Linked DNA regions of Homo sapiens: region 2 is linked to region 1. Evidence: promoter capture Hi-C in human tissues and cell types (Jung and others, 2019). All regions are on one chromosome and are shown on one strand. Each heading gives the region's core, a stretch centred on a gene start or on the middle of the fragment in contact. The rest is flanking DNA. Distances are from core to core; before and after follow the strand shown. Region 1 holds the start of NET1 (neuroepithelial cell transforming 1). Region 2 holds the start of LOC107984199 (a long non-coding RNA gene).

Region 1 (4,970 bases), core at 924-3,423:
AACCTCTCCCTCTATTTGTTAACTCAGCACAGCACATCAAGGGAATTTATTCTTTCTTAAGAGTCTATCCCACAAAATTGTGTTATTTCTCTCTATTCTTTCTTGTCTTCCTGTTGCAGTGAAACTTCTCTTCACCAATCCCATTGCCAGCTATCAGATTCGAACAATCATTTTTTCATTTAGACTACTGCAGACTGATTTCCTACCAATCCATCAGCTAAACTTGGAAATTTTAATTTGGTATACACAGCTGGGTCCACAAATCTCCTGAAATGTTTATGTATATGTGCACATTTTTGGGGAATAGTTTTCATAAAATATGAAGAGTGAGATGACTCCAAAATGTTGCTTATTTTTCTCATGGAAGGCAAACTGATCTTTTAAAATGCAAATATGTCATGCCATTGGCTCATTTAAAGTCTTTCAGTATTTCCCCATTACCATGAAGATAAAACCCAAACTCTGTCAAGGCATACAAGGTCTCTTCATGATGTGGCGCTTACCTCTTTAGCATCATCTCTCATGACTACCTCCTCCTTCTCCCCATATTGGTTTCCTCTCCTCTATACAAATATCACTGTTAATATAGTAATAAAATAGAATATATACCCAGAACTCATCAGACTCATTTGCTTCAGGGCCTTTCTACATGCTTCTCTGCCTGAAATCATCCATTTACATCTGCTCTCTAAACTGGTCCTTAAAGACTCAGGGATTACAATAGGAAATCATTTCCTATTCTCTCCAGTCAGGATTAAGTGTTCCTTTTAATCTACGGCATTCTGTGTATATCACTATAATAACTTTTATCACATATTATAATAATTATTAACCTACTTATCTTTCTTCCCCACTAGATTATAAATCTTAAATAGTAACAAGAGTATTTTTCCATTTCCATATTCCTAGTGTTGGCACTCACATTATTTTCTGAACAAATCGCACATTCTCTTCTCAACCTGTTGCAAAACACTCTAAGTTCGATATTGTAACCATTCTTGGAAACCATCTAAGATCAATACTCTCTTCTCATTACCAAATTTAATTTTCATTCCTCATCTAGCTTAATCCTCATCTTATTTTACTTAATCCTCATTTTATTTGACCTATCAATAACATCTGACATAGCTCGCCACGTCCTCTTCTTGAAATTCTTTCTTCATTTGGCCTCCTGGATACTGTTCTCACTTGGTTCCCTTCCTCCTAATTCACTAGCTATCCCCTGAGCTTCGCTTTGTGAAATTTCACTGAGCCAAACACGAGTCATACACTCTCATTTCAATGTATACTTCCACAAAAAGTAAAAAGAAAAAACACGAAAATGGTTGTGATGAACTCTCTAATAGGCATCTCATAACATATCCCGAAGTCAACTTATCCCTTAGTCTTTTCTTTCTCAGGACATGGAAGCCCATTCTCGTGGTGCTCACCATGACAGTTTCGGTCTGAGCAAAGGCATTTGGGAACGCCAGCCTACAGCCAGTTGGGTGTGCAGAACAAAACCATTGTGGTTTTTCCTAAGTCTCCCCTGAGAAACAGTCAGGAGGCGAGGAGACTCAATAAACCCGCCCCTTTGCCACAGGCAGGGAAAATCGCAGTTTGGGGTCTCAGGACCGACCTCGGTCCAAGGCCAGGCACACTGTCACTCCAGCCTGTGCCACCCTCACTTCCAGCGGCCCCCGTCCCCCCCCCCAACCCCGCGGTCACCTCCCCCACCCCCCACTCACCTCCCAGCGGCCCTCGCCTCCCCCTGGCCCTCACCAACACCCCCACTCGCCGCCCCCCACATCCAACTCCCGGCCAGCCCTCCCCTCCCCCCGGCCCTTGCCTCTCCAACACTCACCTCCCGTTCGGCCCTCCGCTCCCCTACACTCACCTCCCGTTCGGCCCTCCCCTCCCCCACACTCACCTCCCGTCCAGCTCCGACCCGGAGGTGTCGGCCGAAGGCCCCGTCGCTCCCTCCGTGCTGAGCCCAGAGGCCCGGCGGCTTCGCCTCCGCGGTCGAGGCTGCTTCTGAGCCGCCAGCTCGGGCTCCATGGCACGGAGGAGGGGGTGGGGCGGTGGCCGGGTGCCCGGGAGACCGGCAGGGACGGGCACGATGCCCGCCAGCCTCTGCCAGGCAGAAAGCGCCTGTCAGCGGACTGCAGCCGCCACCGCCGTCATCCGGGGATTTGAAAATGGCGGCTGAGCAGCGATCAGCCAATCAGTGAGCGCGCAGCGGTTCCTAGGAGACGTGGAGTCCCGCCCCTCCACCGCTCCCGGGATCTACTTGCCTAGGAAAGAACCTAGGAAAATTTGCCCTTAACTCCTGAGCGCATCCCTGAGTCCCTAAGGCCCGGTACCTCCTTCATTGTTCATTAGGACTTTCACTACAGGCCAAGGCAAATGGACTGGAAGCATTTTAATTCACCAGATCTTTCTTAGCATTTGAGGAGAAGAGAGGTCCAAACTAATGACCTGTAAACAAGGCATGTTTATTGGCCATATTCACACTGAATTATTGTGCACGTGGCCAATATGAGATATATTTCCAATTACCAAAGGTTATGCAAGTGTGTTCCCGGGACTGTCTCTAGGGAACCAGCAAAATCTAATTATGAGCCCTTATGTCTTCCAATAAGCATGACACAGTCTCTCCCTAGCAAAACAGAATGAAGTGACTTCATCCTTTGCTTGTAAAAGTCAGCAAAAGACATAATATAAAATAAAAGACCGCTTCAAGTAAAAAAAAAATTGTTAAACAAATTACACTTTCTTTGATTTTAAATATTGCTTTATATGTGTCAAAGTCTTTAAAAATAGCTTCTCCTGACCGGGCGCTGTGGCTCACGCCTGTAATCCCAGCACTTTGGGAGGCTGAGGCAGGCGGATCACGAGATCAGGAGATCAAGACCATCCTGGCCAACATGGTGAAACCCTGTCGCTACTAAAATACAAAACTTAGCTGGGCAGAGTGGCGCATGCCTGTAATCCCAGCTACTCAGGAGGCTGAGGCAGGAGAATTAGTTGAACCAGAGAGTCGGAGCTTGAATTGAGCCAAGACCGTGCCACTGCACTCCAGCCCAGTGACAGAGCGAGACTCCGTCTCCAAAAAAAAAAAAACAAAAAAACACTTCTCTTTTGCCAGTATATTTCCACTTATGGAAATTTATCCTAAAAAATAAAATTATATAAACATGAAGCTATTAATGACATTGTTTATAATAGAAACATTTAAAACAACCTAAATAAACAATGATTTATAGCTCATCCACTGAGAAGAATATTTTCAGCCAACAAAAATGAAGTGTGAAGTATGTAATAGTATACTGGTAATTTGAAATAAAAACATGAAGTATAGAGGTATATTCAGTATATTCAAAGTTATGAATTACAAGAGATTATACAAAGAAAAAAGATAATGTATTAAAATGTATTAAATGTATTAAAAAGTCAATGTATTAAAATGTCTCTAGGTAGACTTTAGGTATTCAAAATTTTTATTTTTATTTTTTGCATTTAATTTTTTTAAAAATAAGGACATATTGAATTTGCAGTACCTTTATAACATGAGGGAAAAATGTTTTTGTTTTAAAAAGAGTAAGAAATTAGGGAGTAACATTGAGATGTGAAGCCAGCTAGACTTCCTGGGTAGAGTGGGGACTTGGAGAACTTTTCTGTCTGGCAAGAGGATTGTAAAACACACCAATCAGTGCTCTGTAGCTAGCAAGAGGATTGTAAAATGCACCAATCAGTGCTCTGTAAAAAGCACCAATCAGCAGGACCCTAAAAGTAGCCAATCACAGGGAGGATTGAAAAAAGGGCACTCTGATAGGACAAAAATGGAACATGGGAGGGCACATATAAGGGAATAAAACCTGGCCACCCCAGCCAGCAGGGCAACCCACTGGGGTCCCCTTCCACACTGTGGAAGCTTTAGTTCTTTCACTCTTTACAATAAATCTTGCTGCTGCTCACTCTTTAGGTCTGTGCCACCTTTAAGAGCTGTAACACTCACCATGAAGGTCCATGGCTTCATTCTTGAAGTCAGCGAGACCATGAACCCACCGGAAGGAACCAGCTCTGAACATAAGTTGACCTTGGTCAAGAACCACTTCTGTTCTACCTTCCCCATCCCTCCCCAAAAATTAAAGAAGAAAGTACTGCTTTGTAGCAGTTAGAGTGTAAGAATACAGAAATGTTCTTAATATTTGGGGAGTTGGTCTCCACCAAGACAGAGCTTCAGAGGATGCAGATGTTTAGATTATGAACAAAAATAAACCTGTAAGAGCAATTCTTCAAGTCAGGTCCCAAGTAGGTCACAACTACTCTGTGTCCAGAAAACTCACACCCCTTTGGGATTTTCACAATTTACCCGAATTGACCAATCAGGGCTCACCTGATGTAACCGATCAGAACTCATCTGCTTTATCCAATCAGGGTTCAGCTGTATTACCCAATCTGAACTGAGCAAGTCTGAATCTTTCCTTTGCATAAACACATCTGATTGGAAACCTGGACAAGAACTTTTTCTATAGAAGCCAAACCCTCCCCTTTATTCTCTGGAATCACCTTTCTTTTACTCCGAAGGCTGTGTCTCCCTGGTTTGCAAACTGTTCACTAGAATAAAGTCTCCTTTCTCCAAACTTCCTTTTCAGAGAACTTTTGTTCACAAGATAGGACCATGTGAATCGCTGACGCTTGGTCTTTTTACCCACAGAAACAGCCGTTTCATATTAATAGTTTCAACATACTTCGGTGAGATCCTCAGAATTCAGGGTCTGTCCTCAGCTTTGCAGGTCCTGAAACTGGTTTTGATTGTGTCATCAGAGGTGGTCAGTCCTTTGGTAACTTGTAATAACTACTCACAAAATGATAGATACTGCAGGATGTCAATGTGGGGATTCCAGTGGTGGGGGTGGGCACTTCTTTCCAGTGACCTGAATACTATTGTTTTATGCAGAGCAACTGTTTCCAATTTTCATTCACTT
Region 2 (5,451 bases), core at 876-3,375, 220 kb before region 1:
AGGTATGCAAAGCCCTGTGTCCTGAGGTTTGTCTCACAGAGCCGACCCTCATCTCCTCTGTAGGAAAGTGCTGGGTAAAATGCCTCTCACTGATTGGCCTCGCTGCGCTGGTATGGCTCCCTCCCTGGACAATGGTGCGTCTTCTAGGTCTGGCTCTGGGCAAAGTCCCTGGTATCAAACCCTCCCCTTTGGAGAGGTCATAATTGAGGGGCCATTTCACAGTAAGAAAATGCAGCTGCACCCTCTGTCCCCAGCCCGTGGAGGCGGGGTGCTGCCCACCTTCTGCAGGTGGGAGGCGTCGTGAGGGAGACAGCAAGAGACCCCAGTGGGATCCCCAGTGGGATCTCTTGCTCAGCTCTGGGCTCCCCGTGGTCTTCCAGGGAGGGAGTGGAATCTCGTCTACTCCTGGACCATAGCAATGCTCCCTGTGGTATCCCATCTGTGCTACCAGGTGAGTCTGCAGAGAGCTCTGAAGTCATTTGGGATGAAAAGAATGCCTTTCCCTGTCCATTTCATGCCCTGGGCCACTTTGTTAAACTGCTTGTGCTTTCTCTCCAGTGGGCAACACCTGTTTCTTCTAGGCAGTTGAGTTCCTTTATTCGGAAAAACGAGCGTAAGACTGGCTCTGAGAACAAAGCTGGACAGCTTGCTCATCTTTCGAGCAGCTGTGCCGTGGAGAGATGAAGGTGGGGCGCACAGGGCCCTGGCAGGGGCTGTGCCCCCTGTAATGGCTGAGAAAATATTTCCAGACCCTGGAGTCTTTGCCTTTTCTCTTTTCTCCACATTAGCACCACATGACAGTGACAGCGAGGCCTCAGTGATTTTGGCTTGAAGGTCTTGTGATCTCCGACAAGTTGAATGAAAAGATGTCTTAAATTGGTCCAATCTAAAGAGTGCCTCCTTTTTCTCCAAACCATGAAAAAAGGCAGAAAAGATGGATGATAGGCCTCTCTGCCTGTCTCTGTCTCTCTCTCTCTCACGCACCTGTGTACACATTTATTCGTTCAAATACAATTTCACTCTAGCATCTGGCCTCCAGGTGTGCGGTTGTTGTGCACACGGACTTCATGGCTGGGGAGAATCTGCCACTGGACGCTGAGCCAGGATGTGCACTTAGCTTCACCATCTGCACTCTGAGTGATCAACAAAGAAAAGTCCCTCCGTTCTTGGTGTGAATCCAAATCCCGAAGCTTGTTCCACTGTGCTGGGGACAGAGGGTAAGACCAGAGGAGAAGCAGGGACATCCTCTTGCTCCTTGGTCCTCTTCCCCATCTTCCCCATCCAAGCCCACCCATCTTCTTCTTTCCTTTTTTTACCAGTTGTTCTATTTTAAGTTCTCTGCTGGGCACTAATGATATGAGAACACATAAAAGCAAATCTTGGCCCCGAGCATCTCAGAGTCTGTTTTTCAGGGAGCAGGTATAGGAACAGATGTTGCACCTCATCATGTGGTGAGCTGGGGGATGCTGTGGTCTGAATGTCTGTCTCTCCCCAGATTCCTGTGTTCAAATCCCCACCCCCACAGTGATGGTATTAGGATGTGGAGCCTCTGGGTGCTGATTAGCTATGAGGGCAGAGCTCTCTTGAAAGGGACCAGTGCCCTTAGAAAAGAGGTGCCAGGCCTGGTGCACTGGCTCACACCTGTAATCCCAGCACTTTGGGAGGCCAGGGTGGGCTGATCACTTGATGTCAGGAGTTTGAGACCAGCCTGACCAATATGGTGAGACTCCGTCTGTAGTAAAAATACACAATTAGCCAAGCATGGTGGCGGGCGCCTGTAATCCCAGCTACTTGGGAGACTGAGGCAGGAAAATCGCTTGAAGCTGGGAGGCAGAGGTTGTAGTAAGCCGAGATCGTGCCACTGCACTCCAGCCTGCACAATAAGAGTGAAACTCTGTGTCAAAAATAAAAATAGGTGCCAGAGAGCTGCCTTGCCCCTTCAGGCAGATGAGGACACAGAAAGAAGTCGCTGTCTATGGAGAAGAGAGCAGTCATCACCAGGCAGGGATCCTGGACTTCTCAGCCTCTAGAACTTTGAGAAATAGATTTCTGTTGTTTAAAAACCACCAGTGTTTAGGTTTTGTTTGCTTTTATTTGAGCCGGGGTCTTGCTCTGTTGCGCAGGCTGGAGTGCAGTGGCATGATCTCAATCTCCTAGGCTGAAGTGATCCTCCCACGTCAGCCTCCTGAGTAGCTGAGGCTACAGACGTGTGCCACCACATCTGTCTAATTTTTTAACTTTTGTAGAGACAAGTTCTCATTATGTTGCCCAGGCTGGTCTTAGGCTCAAGGATTCCTCCCTCCTCAGCCTCCTGAAGTGTTGAGATTACAGGCATGAGCCACTGTGCCCAGCCATATAGAATTTGTTTTAGCAGCCTCAGCAGACCAGGACAAGGCATGAGCAAACTTGACTCTTAACTCTGCCAAGGACACTGGAGAAGACAGAAGAGGGATGACTGCTGACCTTCTAAAGTCTTGGATTAATAAAGTCAATTACATAGCATAAAGAACAACTTCATTTTGATTCCCATGGTGCTCTGTGGTTTACAAAGCTTTATAACGACTTTGATTAATGGCAGCACTCTTCTGGGATGAGGATGAAGAAACAGAAGATTTGTTGAAGTGACTTTTCTTTTCCTTCATACTTTTTCTACCAGGCACGAAGAAGAGAGTGAGACTTAATTCCATGGAATTTTACATGTATAACAGGGCTTACTGTAATCCTTCTTATGCTTATGATTTTCAAAGACCTGGGAGAGACTTTGATCATAAAAGGCAAGATTTGGCCATCCGGAGAGCGTGGGATTTTGCCTACGAGCCTCTAGGAATCTGTGGGCGGCAGAACAGAAATAGGTCATTTATAAAACTTGACTGAGCCATAGGAAAAAAAATCCATCACAAGCTGACTTCAAAGAGTCTAATTGTTAGATTTTTTTCCTTCTTCTTTGGTGTCAGAGGGGTCCCTTGCTGCTTCTAAAATAGCATGGAGTATAAACTTGTATTCAAGAAATATAGGTAAGATACGATTTAGGTGCAGTTTTGGTTAAATACAGCATTGATGAGAGCAGTATTACTCAAGAGGCTGGGTGCTACTGAGTTCCCACATCCAGCCCCCAACCTGTGCTTGTCCCACCACATGTGGCTCCCACATCCAGCAGGCTGAATCTAAAACTGGCCTGGTCTATAAGGCCGTTCCTCAGATGATCTGACAGCCCATGGATTAATTCTGTGTCACTTTCAAACAGGGCAATAGAGTTGTCAAGACTTGATAAAGCCCAATAATATTTCTAATAACAAGTAAACTGAAAGCCCAGCTGGGCACTGATTCTTATTTTGTGTTGGGCTCCCAGGCCAGCCTACAACGATGTGTTCCTTTGCATTCAACAAACATTCACAGCCAGGCTTCCTAAGCTGGAGTCCCTGGATGTGTGCTTTGCAGATCTTGGCTGTAAAGTATCTCACTGGTCTTTCTCTCTGGCACCTCTTGTTATGCCTCCAGCTGCAGCCAAGCATCTGGGCCTTGGTCACCGAGTGCTGTGATTGCAGGCACTCTGTGCTGACAAGTGACTTGGTTGCCTCAGACCAGGTGTGACTCATTATTTTCCTCCTGACATTCCAAGCACTGAAGTAAATGATTGATGGAGGGAAAGATCCAAAGTGTCAGAGAAGTCTCTCTCTTGGCCGTGAATAACAGGCTACCTTGAATTGGTGTTTCCTTTGCGTATTTTGTTTCTAAGCAAATCGAGTCCCAGGTAGAGTTTTGCCCTTGAGCAGCTTCATGAGGTCAAGGAGGGGCGCTCACTCCACTCTGCACGGAAACACTGAGTGGAATGAAAATACAACCGGAGAGAATGTCCTCCCCACCAGAAGGTCGCCTCGAGACAGGCCTCCACGCATCGTTGCTGACCTCACACAGTGATACCTCTGCATGCCGGGGAGCAATTCCATCCAAGTAAGTGGTGGGTGGGGACAGTTTCTCTCCCTCTGGGGACATGCCAGACTGAGTCCTTGGCAGTACTCTGTTTTCCCGGGAGGCCCTTTTGCCCAAACTGGGACATCTGGTTCCATTAGGAAATCAGAATGTTCCTCTGGGCTTGTGGCGTGCTCCCAGGTGGACACTCCTCTGGGAACGCAGCTGCCTAGGGCAGGATCATTTCACAGGACCTCAGGAAATTACAGGAGGAGCTTGGACCCAAATCCTCCCCAGTGCAGTCAGGAAACACGGCTGAGAGAGTGTTCCCTGCAAGGCCAGAAATGATGGCTTTAATATTACCTCTCTTTCTCTCTCATCTATCATCATCTATTCCTTCTCTCTATCATCTATTATCCCTCTATCTACCTATCCATCCATCAGTCATCTATCTATTCATTTATCTATCCATCCATTGATTATCTATTATCTATCATCTTTCAATTTTTTTTTAGAGACAGGGCCTCACTATCTTGCCCAGGCTGGAGTGCAGTGGCTATTCACGGGAGTGATCCCGCTACTGATCATTATGGGTGTTTAGACTTGCTCCATTTCCAATCTGGGCTGGTTCACCCCTCCCTAGGCAACCTGGCAGTCCCTTGATCCTGCGAGGTCACCATATGGATGCCAAACTTAGTGTGGACCCCTGATCTGTGTAGTGTACCACAGCTTGGAACTTCTGGACTCAAGCAATCCTCCTGCCTCAGCCTCCTGAGTAGCTGGTATTACAGGTGTCAGCCACTGGCTATCTATCTGTCCATCAATCATCTATTTATCTGTTTATTATCTATTGATCTATCATTGATCATCTGTTTATATATCTATCATCAATCAATCAATATATCTGTCTCTTGAGCTATCATCCATCTATTGATCTATCATTGATCTATTATTTAATGGGCACGTGTTGAATGTCTAATACATGGCTCTGAACTGAGTCTCGGGAAGGGAAATGCAAAGATCTTGGCTTCCCTTTAAGACCCTCCCATTTAGGAGAGGATAAAAGATGCATCAGCTTTATCAACATCGTCTCAACAGAAGCCAGAATGGAGTGAATGCCACACAAGAGGAAAACAGTGCTTGAGAATTCGTTGTTTTTAAAAAATGCATCATGGAGAAAGGGAATCTGAGCTCTGTATCTCCAGTCAAGGAATGATATGAACCGAAACACACATGTTCTGGAAAATTGATCAGATTGTGGCGTGTGGTGTAAACAGGCAGCTGGCAGAGCTGGAGGCCAGATATGGAGTTGGGAGAGGCGGTGAGAGAGGAATGTGAAAGCCAGGCCGTGCCTGCCAGTGCAGAGATGGACTGGACCGGACTGGGTGCCCAGGTGGATGAAGCCTGGGTGGGCGTTCAATAGCTGGGACACAATCTTTTCTCTTCAAATAGAACACCTATCAAGGGAGATCTCAGCATCAGGTGCCCCAGCCTGAGCAGTGCTTGCTGAAGGTGTGTGGAGCAGCAATGGTTGGTTGTCTC

The links. Contacts are between HindIII fragments. The study calls those that stand out against the background at their distance.
Region 2: a contact is called between a fragment that was not itself captured here and the fragment with the promoter of NET1 in region 1, in 3 of the 25 tissues and cell types used here (adrenal gland, hippocampus and thymus).

What each region holds. Positions count from the first base shown.
Region 1 is chr10:5,409,760-5,414,729 of GRCh38, reverse strand. It overlaps NET1 (neuroepithelial cell transforming 1), which reads right to left and starts at 2,173. Exons shown (of 12, transcript NM_001047160.3): 1 at 1,910-2,173. The coding sequence starts at 2,037. RefSeq lists a silencer at 1,832-2,261. The HindIII fragment of the contact is 9,279 bases long and covers 1-4,970 here.
Region 2 is chr10:5,630,727-5,636,177 of GRCh38, reverse strand. It overlaps LOC107984199 (a long non-coding RNA gene), which reads left to right and starts at 3,153. Exons shown (of 2, transcript XR_001747344.2): 1 at 3,153-3,951. It also overlaps the pseudogene RN7SL445P. The HindIII fragment of the contact is 4,294 bases long and covers 1-4,272 here.